Regions from separate parts of the Homo sapiens genome. Here region 2 is linked to region 1. Evidence: promoter capture Hi-C in human tissues and cell types (Jung and others, 2019). All regions are on one chromosome and are shown on one strand. The core of a region is centred on a gene start or on the middle of the fragment in contact, and the rest is flanking DNA. Distances in the headings are between cores, read along the strand shown. Region 1 holds the start of ARHGEF7 (Rho guanine nucleotide exchange factor 7). Region 2 has its middle 31 kb from the start of LINC00368.

The links. The method cuts DNA at HindIII sites, captures the fragments that hold promoters and counts their contacts. A contact is called where the count stands out against the background at its distance.
Region 2: a fragment that was not itself captured here is called in contact with the fragment with the promoter of ARHGEF7 in region 1 in 1 of the 25 tissues and cell types used here (mesendoderm cells).

Annotation. Positions count from the first base shown.
Region 1 is chr13:111,114,051-111,116,564 of GRCh38, forward strand. ARHGEF7 (Rho guanine nucleotide exchange factor 7) reads left to right here and starts at 1,260. Exons shown (of 22, transcript NM_001354046.2): 1 at 1,260-1,641. The coding sequence starts at 1,477. It overlaps ARHGEF7-AS2 (ARHGEF7 antisense RNA 2), which reads right to left and starts at 1,628. Exons shown (of 2, transcript NR_046667.1): 1 at 1,497-1,628; 2 at 1-868. RefSeq lists a silencer at 1,133-1,222. The HindIII fragment of the contact is 8,096 bases long and covers 95-2,514 here.
Region 2 is chr13:111,063,422-111,065,935 of GRCh38, forward strand. No RefSeq gene overlaps it. Among named protein-coding and RNA genes, the nearest start is that of LINC00368, 31 kb to the right of the region's middle. RefSeq lists an enhancer at 628-1,158. The HindIII fragment of the contact is 5,156 bases long and covers 1-2,514 here.

The DNA.
Region 1 (2,514 bases), core at 10-2,509:
TTCGGCATCTGATCAGTAAAAGGGGACCATGATGGGAGGCGAGGCAGTAGACAGCACTTTGTGACGGTTCCTAACCAGTCGCTGTTATCACTGAGCACATTGTCCTCGTAATCCAGAATTCATACTGCCATTTGAATATTTTTTGTATTTGCAAAGAAAATTTTAACCACTTAACTCAAGGCTAGAAATAAAAGCAATTAGTGATTGCAAGAGAAATCCACCGGCAGAAGGCAGGGGGAGACGACTTAAGCCTCTGATTATTTTTGGAAGCTTTATATGCTTTCTAGCCTTTGTCATTGAATGGATTAATGTATGTGCCTGGCATAGACTAAGTGCTTTGCTTGTTAAACTGCCCGCGGGTCATAGCGAGCAAACTGGGGGAGCGCCCAGGGACAGTGGATGGAGTGAGTGGAGACTCGTGTCCTTTTAAGAAGAGGCTCCATTTCTTCCTCGCATGTCAATGTGTGCGTGTCATCAGTTGTTCGAGGAAGCTCGCGCATGACGCGACACTTGCCGTCTGGGCTCTCCAGGTTCGGCCTGCTGCTTTCACAGCCCAGATCTTCGGCGTCCCCGAGACGCAGCCAGGCGCCCGGCCCGGCCCGGCCCGGCCCTCTGCACAGCCCCACTTCAGGCCACGCCGTTTCCTTGACCTTCCCCCGGCAGGGTCTGAAGCGTCACCGTCCGTCTAGAGCAGAGTCGCGCAGGCCCCTGCCCTGCCGGTGAGGTCGGCGCCGCGCTCCGGAGAGTCGGTTCCTCCCGATTCAGACCCATATGGCTTCAGATGGAACCATCATTTCTGTTCCGTCATGACCGGCTTGCAAGGTAGCAAAGCGAAACAAACGTCTCGTTTTCAGCCTGTCCCCGCCACCTTGAAATAAAACCGGCAAAAATAAAAAGAGCATTCTGGGAAGTACTTCATCATTTCAACGCTCACGAATTCAAAACATAAACAAAGGCTTCCGAGTGCCCCGGCCAGGGGCGCGGGGCGCACGGCGGGCCCGGGGCAGGTAAGCGCAGGTGCGCGCCCGCCCCCACCCCCGGCTCCCTCCCCATCCGCTCCCCGCTCCCCTTCCCCTTTCCCTTCCCCGCCCGCTCCCAGCCGCCGCCGCCGCCCCGCGCACGGCCTGGAGCGGAGGCTGCGCAGGGCGCGGGGCGGCGCGGGCCGGGCGCGGGCCGGGCGGACGGCCGCGTCTTTCTTCTCCTGGCGGTGATGTCATTGGGCGACGGCGGCCGAGGCCGGGGGGCGGCGGCGGGCGCCCGCAGGTTCCCGAGCCGCTCCTGAGAAGGCGCCTGACAGCGGGCCGGGGCGCACGGAGAAGCGGGCCGGGCCGGACCTGCTGGGCCGCGCCGAGCCAATCGCCGGCGCCGGCCGCTCGATGGGCGAGGCGGCGGCGGCGGCGGCGGGGGCCGCGGGCCGGGCCGCCGCTCCGAGGTGAAGGCGCGCGCCCCTCCCCGCCTGCCTCCCGGGCCGCAGCGATGAATTCCGCCGAGCAAACCGTTACGTGGCTCATCACTCTGGGGGTGCTGGAGTCGCCCAAAAAAACCATCTCGGACCCGGAGGGCTTTCTGCAGGCGTCGCTGAAGGATGGGGTGGTCCTCTGCAGGCTGCTGGAGCGCCTGCTCCCCGGGACCATCGAGAAAGTAAGTCCCGGCCCGCGCCCCCGCCCGCGCCCCCCGGTCCGGCCCGCTGCGGCCCGGGATGCGCGCGGAGCACCTGAGGCCGGCCGCGCTCGGGAAACCCGTGCGCCCTCCTTTGTGCGCGGAGCGGCGGCGCGGCCGGCGCCAGGACCGTGGCGGGAGCTCGGGGGGCGCCATTGTGTGCGGGGCAGGGGGAGGGGGCCGGGGAGCGGGGTCGGGGGGAGGGGCGGCGCGGGCGGCGGGGGTCCCCGGGAAGGAGAGTGCACCGCAGCGAGGAGACGGGGCTTCTGCGCCGCCCGAACGCTAAGTTGCCCCTCCGCGTGGGGGGCCGGCCCCGCTCCCTGGCAGCAGCCGCATCGGAAACCGCGTTCCGACGCGGTGCGGCTCACTCCGCTGGCTTTGTGTGGACAGTTCTTGCCGGTGGCGTTGCGTGAGTTTCGCCTCCCAGGTTAATTGACCGGTTGCTCTGTATTTTTAAAGAGGCACGCATCTGTAGCTGAGGGCTGCGCTGTGAAACGATCTACTACTTTCCCCTCGAGAAAATTCCCCACCTATCCGAGCCGAGAGGACGGCAGACACAGGGTCTAAGTCCTGGCACTCTTCAAGGCTTGTTAAAATTCTAGATTTCGTTCTCAGGTCCCTCCCTCGTTCTGAACAGAACCTTTAGTCCTGCAGGCACTGCTTCTCCCTTCCGGCTGGTGGTTCCCAGGCTGGAGCGTGTGAACCCTGACCCGAATCTCTGGAAGTGATTAAAGTTTGTTTTCATCGCCCACAAGCCGGCCAGCAGGGCCGAGGAGGCAGGAGAGTTTCTAAAAACGATGTCTCCCTGTAGCTCAAAATACTAAAATCTTATTCCCAGGGTGTTTCTTCGGGGGG
Region 2 (2,514 bases), core at 7-2,506, 51 kb before region 1:
AAAGTGTGGGTGATGCGAACAATGTTTATGTAATCAACTTTTGGTTAAATCCCTTCCTTAAAGATTTGAATCTTGGTCTAGAACATCACTCTGGAATGTCATATTTATTGTATCATGTAAATGTCCAATTTAACATCCTATAACCCCACGGCATATTGGGTACACGTGCGGCACAAGTTACCTTATACTCTGAACAAGAAATGGGTCAGGAAGAATACGAGCCTTGTCCTTGCAGATTTTCTCAATTATTCGTCATCTATAATGCATATGTGTAGGGAAACTGGCAGGATGTAGAAATGAATAAAAAGAGGAAACATCTTTTTTCCTTGCTTTATATGACCAGCAATCAGTGCCACTGATGTAGCAAGTGCCATGTAAACATCAGTTATTTTATTCATGTCAATGATCCTGTGTGCTAGAAATTACCTCATTTTATTTATGGGGTGACAGAGGCTCAGAGAGATTAAATAACATGCTGGAGTCTTACATCTTGCAGGCAGCAGAGCCAGGATTTAAACTCACCCAGAGCCTGTGCTTTTCCCTGTGTGCCACGAAGCCCACACACAGCAGTCCACTCTCCTCCAGGTCCCTCACTGCATCTTCCATTCTTCTGGGCAAGGCCTGAGAGCAGAGGCCCTGAAGCCCAGGGCCCAGGCCCCTCAGGGAAGCTTCTGGTGTAAAGCAAAAATAAAATGCTAAGCCCCCTAACCATCTGAATGAACCCCTCTTCTTGGAATGCCAAGGGCATTCCAAAGTTAATCTGAAAAACGAGTTCAGGCTATGATGGGAAGCAGGGGTTGGACATGCCTCAATATACCTTCCGCCCTTTTGGAATTCAGGCACAGCTGACCAGCATTAACATCAACACAGACTTTAAGTCTGATAAGAAGCATTTACAATCTATTCTCTGTGAAGCCTGCTACCTGGAGGCTTCATCTGCATGACAAAACCTGGCTCTCCACAATCCCTTATTATAACCCAGACACTCCCTTCTATTGATTCCAGGTCTTTAGATAAAAACTCTTTCAACCAATTGCCAATCAGAAATTCTTTGAGTCTACCTGTGACCTGGAAGCCCCTGCTTCAAGTTGTCCCACCTTTCCTGACCCAACGAATGTACACCTTACCTGTATTGATTGATGTCTTAAGTCCCCCTAAAATGTATAAAACCAAGGTGTAGCCTGACTACCTTGGGCACATGTTCTCCTGACCTCCTGAGGTTGTGTCACAAGTCATTGGTCCCTCATATTTGGTCAGAATAAACCTCTTCAAATGTTTTACAGAGCTTGACGCTTTTCGTCCACACTATGCAAAGAGAACAAGACAGGGATGGGAGATTTTGGTTCCACTTGGTGGCCAAGGCTCCTGGTTTCTAACCACATGCAGGACCAAGCTGGCACGGCCTGTCACAGCACCCACATCCCTACTGCCTTCTGGAAGCTGCTCCTTTTCCTTCAGGGCTAAGCAGGGACCCAGACCCCTTCCTTCACTGTCCTGGAGGCTCCAGCACCTGGTCACATTTCTGCTCTCAGCCTTGAAATGTGGAGGGCTCATCTCATCTTCTCAGAAAGTAAAACATGTGGCAGCCTCAGTGAGCCCATACAGTTTTCTTCAGGGCAGCCCACATGGCACCTGGCATGGTCTCCTCTCCCTCAAAGCAGGAAAGAGACCTTCTCATGGGTAAGAGAAGGCCCATGGTGGAAACACAAAGGCAGCCATCTGGCTGAGAAGGAAAAAACACTGATTCTTCCAGATGAGTCTGCAGTGGCGGAAAACAAAGCTGGGGTGGCTTCCCCACTGCAGTGCTTAGTTCTCGGGGGGATCTGCTGCTCATTGATTTCTAACATTGCCTTCCAGTTACATCATGGAAAACAGGAAGAAAGAGGAAAAAATAGGAAAGGAAGAACAAAATGCACTGAAGCAAGAGCAGGAAGAAAGGGTAGAATGAAGCATTTAAACAGAGAGGAAGAGAAAAATAGCAATCACAGAAAGAACCAGGGAGTTTATAAAACAGGCTGCATGAAAATCATTTATCAAAACACTGTCCAGGAATTTTTGTTAAAAATAAACATAAAACAATTAGCTAGTCACAAAAAGACAAGTACTGTGGAACTCCACTCATTGTTAGTCAGTGGCGAGGCAGACATGAGCAGGGCAGGAGAGGGCCCACCCCACCAGGAACCTCTGGAGACCATCAGGTGATACTCAGGCAGTGGTTAAACTGGTTCTCTAAAATAGTAATTGGTTGCAGCTGTGCCAGGGAAAGGCGGGCTCCCAATAGCTGGAAAACACCTGAAACTGATCAGCAGCTTTCTATAAGATCTCAGGAGTGGGGCGAGGTGGCTTAGGCCTGTGCACTAAGAGGTAAAATGTAGTTTAACTGGTGTGTGACCTTCCTCCAGGAACACGAGACAGGTAAGGGCAAAATACTTCAGGTGAGCATGTGCACAACTTCAGTAATACAGCGCGCACGCGGCCCCGCCCAAGCGCTGGCCGGTCACTGCGCATGCGGAC